3 separate regions of the Homo sapiens genome follow, and all the other regions are linked to region 3. Evidence: promoter capture Hi-C in human tissues and cell types (Jung and others, 2019). All regions are on one chromosome and are shown on one strand. The core of a region is centred on a gene start or on the middle of the fragment in contact, and the rest is flanking DNA. Distances in the headings are between cores, read along the strand shown. Region 1 overlaps CENPS-CORT (CENPS-CORT readthrough). Region 2 overlaps PEX14 (peroxisomal biogenesis factor 14). Region 3 holds the start of CASZ1 (castor zinc finger 1).

Region 1 (3,918 bases), core at 651-3,150, 340 kb after region 3:
ATCGCCATTGCACTCCAGCCTAGGCAACAAGAGCGAAACGCCCTCTCAAAAAAAAAAAAAAAAAAAAAAAGTGTGTGGCATCCCCCTACTCAGGCCAAGTCTCTCTCTTGCTCTTGCTCTCACTGTGTGATACACTGGGTCCTACTTGGCTTTCTGTAATGATTGGAAGCTTCCTGAGGCCTCACCAGAAACTGAGCAGATGCCTGGTGCCATGATTTTTTTTTTTTTTTTTTTTTTAAGTAGAGATGGGGTTTCACCGTTTTGGTCAGGCTGGTCTGGAAATCCTGACCTTGTGATCCGCCTGCTTCGGCCTCCCAAAGTGTTGGGATTACAGGCGTGAGCCACCGCACCTGGCCAGGTATTTCTTTATAGCAGCACAAGAACGGCCTAAAACATTCCAAATGAAACCTCTCTCTCTATGGAAAACGCTACTGTTTTTAAGATGGGCTGCCCCTGGCCAGGCGCGGTGGTTCATACCTGTAATCCCAGCACTTTGGGAGGCTGAGGTGGGTGGATCACAAGGTCAGGAGATCGAGACCATCCTGGCTAACACGGTGAAACCCCATCTCTACAAAAAAATAGAAAAAATTAGCTGGGTGTGGTGGCGGGTGCCTGTAGTCCCAGCTACTCGGGAGGCTGAGACAGAAGAATGACCTGAGCCCGGGAGGTGGAGCTTACAGTGAGCCAAGATCACTTCACTGCACTCCAGCCTGGGTGGCAGAGGGAGACTCTGTCTCAAAAAAAAAAAAAAAAAAAAAAAGACGGGCTGCCCTTCAACAGGTGCTGCTTACATCAAGGTAAGTATCTCCCCTGAGCTTCCCAGTCTGAGGAGTTTCCTAAAGCCTGGAATCCTTTGCTGCCAGCCCTGAAATAGGAAAGCTGTGAGTGTCTGTTGTCCTTCATTCCTCCTCAGCAGTTAGGGAGCTGTTCTGGTGCCAAATCCTGGACAAAATAACAAGAGCATGAACTTGAAGTTGCCCAGGGCCTGATTACCCAGATCTACACACCTGACTCTACTGAACTACAGAAAAGGCCACCAAAAACCAGATGGTGGGAAATGACCATTTTACCCTGATTTATTAATCACAAGCATATTCATCTGGTCTAACATGCAGCTGATGCCAGTTAATGTCGTATGAAGTCCCCTGAACTAAGGTAGGCTTAGACTTGAATTTCCTGGCAGTAGCACTAGTAGAGCCTCATTATCCTACAGATAACTACTTAGTTAAAAGGTAAAATCCCCAATCTTAAAGTCTGTGTGGATGACCCCAATGTATTTTATTTTTTGAGACGGAGTCTCACTCTGTCGCCCAGGCTGGAGTGCAGTGGCACAATCTTGGCTCACTGCAATCTCTGCCTCCCGGGTTAAGGTGATTCTCCTGCCTCAGCCTCCTGAGTAGCTGGGATTACAGGTATGTGCCACCAAGCCCGGCTAATTTTTGGTGTTTTTAGTAGAGACAGGGTTTCACCACGTTGATCAGGCTGGTCTTGAACACCCGACCTCAGGTGATCCACCCAGCTCGGCCTCCCAAGGTGCTGGGATTACAGGTGTGAGCCACCACGCCCAGCCCCTATTTTATCTTATTTTACTATTATTTTTGAGACAGAGTCTCGTTCTGTCACCCAGGCTGGAGTACAGTGGCATGACCTCGGCTCACTACAACTTCCGCCTCCCAGGCTCAAGTGATTCTCGTGCCTCAGCCTCCCAAGTAGCTGGGATTACAGGGGTGCACCATCACGCCTGGGTAATTTTTGTATTTTTAGTCGAGACAGGGTTTCATCATGTTGGCCAGGCTGGTCTCGAACTCCTGGCCTCAAGTGATCTGCCTGCCTCAACCTCCCACAGTGCTGGGATTACAGGCATGAGCCACCGCGCCCTGCCGACCCCAATTTAAAAACTGAAAAACAATAAGCATGGCTTCTTTCTAGAAAAAATCTTTAAAAAAAACAAAGTTCTGGAAGGTTAGCTGGCCTTTCAGGCAGGCATCTTCCACCAGTGCACTGACCCAATTCCTGGTCTCCTAAAGCTGCTGTGTTTGGAAACGTGGATGCTATTAAGTCTCTTCCATCACATTATACTTTATTCAGCTAGTAATTATGAATATGAGCTCAGCTCGGCAGAAAACAACGGACGGTCAGCAGCCATTCTCAGGGAGTCCGCTCCCCTGGTGTCCAGAGAAGAGAATATTCCCGTGTCCTCCAGCCAGCCTTTGCTGGTTTTCCCAATGAAGTTTAGCATCGAAAAACCTTCATGGCCAGGCGCAGTGGCTCACGCTGGTAATCCCAGCACTTTCTGAGGCCAAGGCAGGTGGATCACCTGAAGCCAGGAGTTCGAGACCAGCCTGACCAACATGGAGAAACCCCGTCTCTACTAAAAATACAAAAATTAGCCAGGCGTGGTGGTGTGTGCCTGTAGTCCCAGCTACTTGGGAGGCTGAGGCAGGAGAGTCACTTGAACCTCGGAGGCGGAAGCCACAGTGAGCTGAGACCGTGCCATAGCACTCCAGCCTGGGCAACAAAAGCGAAACTCCATCTAAAAAAAAAAAAAAAAAAATTAGCCAGGCATGGAAGCGCATGCTGTAGTCCCAGCTACTCAGGAGGCTGAGGCAGGAGAATCACATGAACCTGGGAGGCGGAAGTTGCAGTGAGCTGAGACCGCGCCATAGCACTCCAGCCTGGGTGACAGCTAGACTCCGTCTCAAAAAAAAAAAAATTCTGTGGGTAGCCTTCATTCCTCCCAAAGCAAATCTGAAGCTATAATCCATGAAAAGAATTGCAACCCATTAAGCTACTAATTAAAACTGGTACATAACAGCAAGTTCGAGTATCAGTTTCACAGGCATGTCAGCAGGTTTTCTGTTTAATATGTTTTAAAATTAATTTCAGCTAAAACATGAGGAATAATCATTTTGCTCTTCGAGCCTGATATTAAAAATTTGCTTTTAATGTGAGGGAAATATTTTTTAAATTAGACAATTCATATCAATTCATAAACTGAAATAAGATGTTATTCTGAACTCTTAATTGTGTAGCCTTTAGCTATTTTATTTTAAATCAAAGACAGAGCTTCCCAGCACCATAATGAACATCAGAAGAAAAGCCCAGTGCCCGCACTCAGCACAGTCCAGTCGAACCACAAAAAAATCTTTATCAAAGATCTTCACTTTGGGTTCCAAATTACTCAAGACACGTCAGTATTGGGCATTATTGGAATTTAAATAACAAACACTTTTCAAATGACTTGGGAAGGAGGAGAGGAAAGATCACTGCTGCTTAATACATTTTATTCAGGTCTGTCATTACACTTGCGTGAGCATTCATGGGTGAGGTTTTATTTGCAGGAGGAGAAGGTCTTCCAGAAGAAGTTCCTGCAGGGCATTCTGTCCCGGCGCGCAGATTGCTGGGGGGGTGCGCCTTCCTGCCGCCTGGCCACCTCCCGGGCTTCCTCTCCTATGAGGGGCCCGGCACTGGCCTGGGAGGTCCACTCAAACCACCAAGCGAGGAAAGTCAGGAGGCTGCTTTTCCTTATTCCTGCCGCTTCCTGCATATGCTTTTAAAGAGAAGCAGATGGCAAAGGAAAGAAAACTCAGCAATCTGGCTCAGGCAGCAAGCATTCAAAGATATGCAATCTCCTCCTTACTTAAAAAAAAAAATGATCTAAAAGACTACCCTGGAGAAAAGAGAAAGAAAATATTAAAATGAAAAGATGCTCCATAGCGATAAGCCTCATTTCCATTTAACGGATGAGGATGAGAAAGTGAAGAGAATACCTTAAAGAAATTGCTTTAATTAGAGAAAAGTTGGTCATTTTAAGTCAAGGGAAGAAACCTGGTTTTGCTCCATACTCTGCTAAGGTCCTTAATTAGGAGAGGTCGGGAAATCTGCCATTTTCCCCTCAGTGACTGGCAGCTGAGAAGC
Region 2 (3,761 bases), core at 170-2,669, 310 kb after region 3:
AACTCCACGTGTGCAGAAACTGCCTGTGTTTGCTTATCACTGTATCCCTGGGGGCTAGGACAGTGCCAGGCACAGAGGAGGCCTTCAATAGAAATTTGCTGAATGAATGAATGGGCAACAAAAAAACAGAACAATGGCAACAACTCAGCTGAATGGATTATTTAGATTCTTCCGTTCATTATCTTCCTGAGGGTTTCCTCTACTCCATTTGCTAGATACTAAGTGCTAACATTCACTTAGCTCTTTCCTCCTTTAATTCTCACAATAAGTATATCAAATTACTGCTGATGAGGAAACTGAGGCAAAAGAGGTTAAATAACTTGCCCATGATTACTCAGATAGTAACTGGTACTACAGGGATTTGAACCCTTCTACTTAATCAAAATAAGCAAGTTTTGTTTAAACCACATTTTATTAAGCAACAACCTTAATGCTACCCCATAAATAATAATGTAGGTTATTTGACCAGACAAAACACACAAAAGCAAACAGCTTTAGTATTTAGGAAGCCCCATTCTGACTTAACCCAAAACTTTCTTCCTAAAATAAAACTAATCACTATGAATTGTTTCCACCAAGGAACTGCTCTTAAAATTAGTTCATCCCTTGAATAGCTAGTATTTACCAGAGGGAAAAACTTCAAACAGTACACAGTGCCAAATAAGTCTCTTTCATCATAAACCCTTTAGTACCTTTTAAATTATAAGCCATGTAAATGAATTGTTTTAGAAAATTCAATATTAAAAGTAAAAAAGAAAGCTTCCCTCTCATTCCAACCCTAGGGGACCCACACTGACGCTGGTTCCTTATATATTCTGCCAAGGATATTCAAAGCATATAAGAAGCATGGCCGGCCGGGTGCAGTGGCTCATGCCTGTAATCCCAGCACTTCAGGAGGCCAAGGTGAGCGAATCACTTGAGGCCGGGAGTTAGAGATGAGCCTGGCCAACATGGCGAAACCCCGTCTCTACAAAAAAAATGCAAAAATAAGCTGGGTGTGGTGGTGCATGCCTGTAGTCCCAGCTACTCGGGAGGCAGAGGCACAATAATCGCTTGAACCCGGGAGGCGGAGGTTACAGTGAGCTGAGATCATGCCACTGCACTCCAATCTAGGTGACAGAGTGAGACTCTGTCTCCAAAAAAAAAAAAAAAAAAAAAAAGGAGCATGGCCAAGTGTGGCTTACACCTTAAACCCAGCACAGCACTCTGGGAGGGTACAATGGGAGGATCCCTTAAGGCCAGGAGTTTGAGACCAGCCTGGGCAACACAGCGAGACCCCATCTCTACAAAAAATTTAAAAATTAGCCGGGTGTGGTGGTGCATCCTATAGTCCCAGCTACTCAGGAGGCTCGCTTGATCCCAGGAGGCAGAGATTGCAGTGAGCTATGATGGTGCCATTGTATTCCAGCTTGGTCAACAGAGCAAGACTCTGTCTCAAAAAGAAAAAAAGGGTGCATGTGTATGCATATTCCTACCATGGAATTTGAAACAGCAACACTCCAAATTCCTCAAGTCATGGCTTCCCAGAGCCACAGTCCCAGTATGAAGCTGGGAATACAAATGTGAGCCACCACACCTGGCCTTTTTTTTATTTTTTTAATCATGGCCTACCCTGTGAACATTTTTTTAAAATCTTCCACCATGCTAGCTGTTTAAACAATCGAAGCAGGCCGGGCACAGTAGCTCACGCCTGTAATCCCAGCATTTTGGGAGGTCGAGGCAGGCAGATCACCTGGTCAGGAGTTCAAGACCAGCCTGGCCAACATAGCAAAACCTCATCTCCAACTGATCCTGGAAATCTTCACAGAGTAGTCCATGATTAAAAAAAAAAAAAAAACAAGGCCGGGCATGGTGGTTCACACCAGCACTTTGGGAGGCCGATGTGGGAGGATCGCTTGGGCCCAGGAGTTCGAGACCAGCCTGAGCAACATGGTAAAACCCTGTCTCTACTAAAAAATACAAAAATTTGCCACGCATGGTGGCACATGCCTGTAAGTCCCAACTACCCAGGAGGTTGAAGTGGGAGGATCAACTGAGCCCAGGAGGTTGAGGCTGTGGTGAGCTGTGATCACATCACTGCACTCCAGCCTGGGTAACAGAGTAAGACTGTCTCAGAAAAAAAAAAAAAAAAAAAGGCTTAGAAACCACCCACAGGCATCTATTGTAACGATGTAAGAAAAGGACCTAAGGCAATCCATGCCCAGGATCCTTAGAGGCCTGAATGGGGAGAGCAGGAAGAGAAGAAAGCAAAAGCAGAAAACTGCTTTAAAAAAACAAGTCAGGCAAAGACTACGGCGGCAGAGAGAGAAATGCTTTTCTTTTGGTAGAGACAAAGGTGCTCTCACTCCTGCTGCCAAGGCGCTGACCTTCCCCAACTGGAAGGCGTTCCCAGATCCTGACCTGCTGTCCAACAAAGAACAACCTCACAAGCAGCTCACAGATTTGAGCAACTGGCGAAAGCTCCAGGTCTAGGAGAACCCATCCTGCATCTGCCCAGTAACTGCGACTTCAGATAGGAGAACCCATCCTGCATCTGCCCGGTGACTGTGACTCCAGATAGGTCCTAAGCCAGTCTGTGTAGTTCTCTGCTGGGAAGAATAAGATTCGATCCCACCAATATCCTTTGAGATGCAGTGGCATGACAGAAAGTACACAAGCTTTGGCATTAAGAACTCAGTGATTTGGGGGCACGCTGCTCAACCTCTCTGAGCCTCAGTTTCCTCATCTATGGGAATAACGGGAATAATACCACCACCTCACATTTGGGATTAGAGGAGATGATAAGTTATTTCATGTCACTCCTCTGCTCAAAGTCAACCAATGCACTTCCACTTCGGGTCATGATGGAGTGATAGGGAACAGATTTGCCCTCCCACTGTAAACAACTAGAAAACTAAGCCAAATAAATAAAACCACTGTGTGTACACATTGGACAGCAGGCAGTGCAGGACTACGATCCCTGAAAGCAGAGAAACAAATTACTTGGGCCCTAAAATCACTCTGGCTTCCTGCCAGGAGACACATTTCAGGCCCTGGAGAGAGACGGGGATCCCCAGCAGAGCACGCCACCCACTTAAGTTGAAGAGACAGAGATCAGAGTTCAGGGAGGCCAAGGCAGCTGAAAGCTGCAGGACAGACTTCAGAAAGAAAGAGCTATGCAGAAAAAGTGGTCCAGAAATCTGTCTGGAGGTTCCCTCAGGTCTCTGCTGAATACTAAAATTTGTGCATGCATAGGGTGAAACTCCACAGTGAAGAAGAAGCTAGGAGCTGACATTTCTTAGAACTCTCAGGGGAATCATGAGTCCCAAGCAGCCAGACTGGAGTGTCCTCACAGGGCATTCAGGAGAGACCAGAGGTCAAATGATCCCTAGATTAAAGATTATCCAGATCCACTCTAACAAAGCTAAAAAACAGGACTCAAAATGATAACAGTAAACCATAAAAAACTGCACAGAAGAAAAAAGCTTTAAGCACTCTTTAAAGACCACAAAATCCATAACCTCAACAATACTGAACTCACAATATCCAGCATCCAATAAAAAATTTCAACACATGGCCAGGCACGGTAGCTCACGCCTGTAATCCCAGCACTTTGGGAGGCTGAGGCGGGCGGATCACCTGAGGTCACGAGTTCGAGACTAGCCTGACCAACATGGAGAAACCCCGTCTCTACTAAGAATACAAAAATTAGCCGGGTGTGGTGGTGCATGCCTGTAATCCCAGCTACTTGGGAGGCTGAGGTAGGAGAATCACTTGAACCC
Region 3 (3,615 bases), core at 28-2,527:
TTAATGCATTCTGTTGAGCAGGGCTTGAAGCTGTGGGTCATACTTTGAATTTATATTCATTTATTCCACAAATCATTGATCTATTTCGTTTACTGTTATGGTCAGTTTCTCACTTATCTCATCATCTGGGTGTTTTCAGTTTCTTTCATGCCTCTCGATATTTCCATCCCACGCTTATGCTGAAGGGAAAAGCAGCTCAGGCCTGGAATGAGGGGTGCGCTTGCTGAGAAAGGCAAGACCAGAGCTACAGGGCCTCAGCACTGAAGCTGACTACTAGGCTCAGCTGGTGTGGCCACCTCAAACCAACTGGGAAATGGGAAGTCTGGGTATGGGAGAAAAGGGGGTTTCTTCAATAAAGTATGAAAGTGCCCCTCAAAAGGCCCTTCCCCCCCATCTGGGGGCAAGGGGATTATCTCTCGCAAGACACTGCTTTGTTTTGTTTTGTCAGAAATGAGGTCTAGCTATGTTGCCCAAGCTGGTCTCGAACTCCTGGGCTCAACCGATGCTCCTGCCTCGGCCTCCCAAAGTGCTGGGATTACAGGCGTAAACCACCATGCCGGCCCCCAAGACACTTTTTAGCCTATTGCCTTGGTTTATTTTCTTCATGGATACTTTCACTCTCTGAAATAACATTATCCACTTGTTTTAATGTGTATTATCTGCCCCCCCCCCAGCCCCTCCATGTAAGGTTCATTCTGCACGGCCTATCTTGCTCACTTAAGGATTTATTTCTTGCACAATAGATTGAATGAAAAACTCCCTTGCAAAGAATAAGTGCAAAGCAGATATCAAACAGTGAGAACATTTCGTTCCTTTGGGTTCCACAGTTCTAACATTCTAACTTGCAAAAAAGAGCCAGTTCTTCTGTCGAAAGTGGGAACCGAACTCGGGCTCTCTCGGGGTTCAGAACAGGTGGAAAGTAACCCCCCCCCCCATCCCTTCTCTCTTTTCCCCTAGCCTCAACTCAACTCAGCTGGGGGGGGGTGTAGAAGCCTCTGGACCTGCAAAAGGGGGCCGAGCGCTCAGATGCTCCTCCGCAGGCCGTGCGACTCGCCGCGCGCACACGCTGAGCTCAGCCCGGGCGGTGGGTGGGAAGGATCCGGGAGGGGCAGGTCTGGGGGTGTGAGGGTGGAGCGGAGCCCGGCCCCGCGATCCGGCCCGGGTTTTGCATGCCACCCACTCGCCCGCCCGGCCGCGGAGAATTCCATAATCACAGCGGGCGAGAGCGGAGACTGGGAGCGAAAAATCCGGGATCCGGCAACTTTGGGCAGCGCATGCGCGCCCGCGGCGCTCCATCCCAAACACACACACATTTTTCCCCCGGACTTGGAAAGTCACCCAAAGCCGCCCCAAGTGCAGGTAAGAGACTCGGCGCTCCCTCCGCCGCGGCCCCCCCACGTCCCCCAGCTCCGCGGGCCTCCCGGGGCGCCTCCCCGTCTCTCCCCCTGTCCCGGTGCACCCCCCCCACCCCCGGGGCTGCCGCTTGCAGCAGGGAGCGGGCGAGCGAGCGAGCGAGCGAGCCAGCCAGCCAGCCTGCGATCGGCGGCTGCCACCCAACTCCGGCCGTGCGGAGGCAGGGGGCACGGAGGGCTGGCACCCGGGCGCGGGGCGGCGCGTTGCCTGCCGTGGCCAGGGGAATGCCCGGCGCGCGGCTCCGGGGGAGGGGAGGGCTGCTCCTCCTGGGGGTCGCTTACTCCAACTGAGGGGGTGGCGGGGTAGGGGAGAAGAGAGGGAGGTGCCAGGCGCGAGCACAGGACTTTGCAAATAGGGTGGGGGCGCCCCACGCGCTGTGGGCTCCCGGGGGGGCAGGTGATCTCCAATACCGGGTAATCACTCCTTCCCCTTAAACCCCCACCCCACCCCACCCCCCAGCAGCAGAGGGGTCGTGCGCTCTCCAGGGCAGAGAAGGAGGCGGGGTGAGGGGTGCCTGGGGTGACTTTGCAAGACTTTGCCCATGGGAAGGGGTGGGTGGGGAACCCCTCCAGCCGGCTCTTGTGCCCGGATACCGGGTGTAGGTGCTGCCAGCAGAGGTAGGCAGTGTTCGCTTAGGCGCGGGGTGCCAAAGGGTATCCCCCATAGGAAATCGAAGGCAAGAGATTTCTTAGATGGGGGGAGCGGCGCCCCCTTTTTCATCTGTGCCTGGGAAGTTTATCTCAAGTGCGCTGCTCCAGGCGCGGCAAGTGGCGTTCCTCACTCCCTTCCCCACCCCACCCCCTGCCTCCCCAGCTGAAGGGCTGGCAACACAGGGCACGGGGAGCCGGGGCATCGGCCCAGAGCTGCCCGGCTGTCGGCTGGAGCCCGCCTGGGTCCCGGGGAAAGTTCGGGCGAGTTGTTGCCGGCTGTTGTGTGCGCCAGAAGAGAAGTTGCGCCCGGGGACGTGGGACGCTGGGCTGGCGGGCTAGCGGGCTGGTAGAGTGGTGCGCTCCGGGGGGGCTCTGCAGCGTGGGAGAGGGTCGGTCGGGGTCTGTTCCCCCAGGGTGGGCTGAGGGTGACCTCGGAGCTCAACAATTGGGGAGGAGGAGCCCTGAATCCAAGGGCACAGGGCTGAAATAGGCACCTGGTGAAGGACAGAGAAAAAAGTAGTTTGTGGGGGCGCAGGGAACACCAAAGGGAGAGAGCCGGTTTCCCGGTCACTTAGGGTCCGGCTTAACGGCAAAGGAGAGCGTGGTGACTGACGGAGGAGCGTCGGGGAGCGGGGATCCAGGGGGCGCGCGGGAATGGGGGATCGGGCCAGACCGAGTCAGGGATCTCCCGGGGCAGGGGGCCGATTCGTGCGCCCGGGGTGAGCCGGACGGGCGGAGCGGCGGCCGGTTTATTTTTACTCGGTGGCATTTGCAGAATGTGCAGCTGATGGCCGTCGGCCGCCAGGAAGTTTTGCTTTCTGTTCTTTCTCTCTCTTTCCGAAGCCAGCACTGCCGGGAGCTGGCGGGCCGGGCAGCCGGGTCTGGAAGGGGAGGGGGCGGCCGCCGGGGTGGCGAGGTGCGGGCAGAGGCGCGCTGGGGCCGCTGGCGGGGGCTGGCCGGGCGCGGGCGGGCGGGCGGTTGCTGGGCCGCTGCGGAGCGTTTGGGCGAATGTCTGTCCCCGGCGCTGGAAGCTCCTCCGCGAAGGGAACAGGTGTATGCGCCGTCAATCACGGCTGGAGGGACACTTTGGGGGCGTAGATTAAGATAATAATAATAGATTTTTCTCTAAGGGGTGGGCGCAGATTCTTCTTCCAAGTCATCCCCGACCCGGGTCCGGAGTTGGGGGAGGCTAGTGGAGCGCTGAGGGAGGCAGGGGACCCCCTCTTCCTCCACACAAGTTCCTCTGCCCCAGCTTCAGCTTGGAAAGCCGGCTCTGGGCGCGGCGAGGACCTCCTTCCAGCCACGCTGGCTACGGTGCGGGTGCGGGTGCGTGCCCACCGGAAAAGCGGCAGTAGCGCCTCTCCTGAGTATGGAGCTCCCCCAAACCTGGATCACTGGGCCACGGGGCGGAGTGTGCGTTTCTGACCGAGTGGAGTGTGGGGGTGCGGCCCTCATTGTGCGTAGTTGTCCCGCCGACACCCGGTACACTCAGGGGGTGGCGAGGGGGAAAAGGCCCTGGTAGTCGCGGGGCAAAGTTAGTAAATTTAGGACG

The links. Contacts are between HindIII fragments. The study calls those that stand out against the background at their distance.
Region 1: a fragment that was not itself captured here is called in contact with the fragment with the promoter of CASZ1 in region 3 in 1 of the 25 tissues and cell types used here (pancreas).
Region 2: a contact is called between a fragment that was not itself captured here and the fragment with the promoter of CASZ1 in region 3, in 5 of the 25 tissues and cell types used here (aorta, dorsolateral prefrontal cortex, mesenchymal stem cells and 2 more).

What each region holds. Positions count from the first base shown.
Region 1 is chr1:10,451,009-10,454,926 of GRCh38, reverse strand. It overlaps CENPS-CORT (CENPS-CORT readthrough), which reads right to left. Exons shown (of 4, transcript NM_199006.3): 4 at 2,774-3,550. The coding sequence ends at 3,526. It overlaps CORT (cortistatin), which reads right to left. Exons shown (of 2, transcript NM_001302.5): 2 at 2,929-3,550. The coding sequence ends at 3,332. Among named protein-coding and RNA genes, the nearest start is that of CORT, 2.9 kb to the right of the region's middle. The HindIII fragment of the contact is 5,212 bases long and covers 1-3,918 here.
Region 2 is chr1:10,489,074-10,492,834 of GRCh38, reverse strand. The region is part of intron 1 of PEX14 (peroxisomal biogenesis factor 14); the gene reads right to left. Among named protein-coding and RNA genes, the nearest start is that of PEX14, 16 kb to the right of the region's middle. The HindIII fragment of the contact is 3,285 bases long and covers 1-3,061 here.
Region 3 is chr1:10,794,308-10,797,922 of GRCh38, reverse strand. CASZ1 (castor zinc finger 1) reads left to right here and starts at 1,277. Exons shown (of 21, transcript NM_001079843.3): 1 at 1,277-1,359. The HindIII fragment of the contact is 29,932 bases long and covers 1-3,615 here.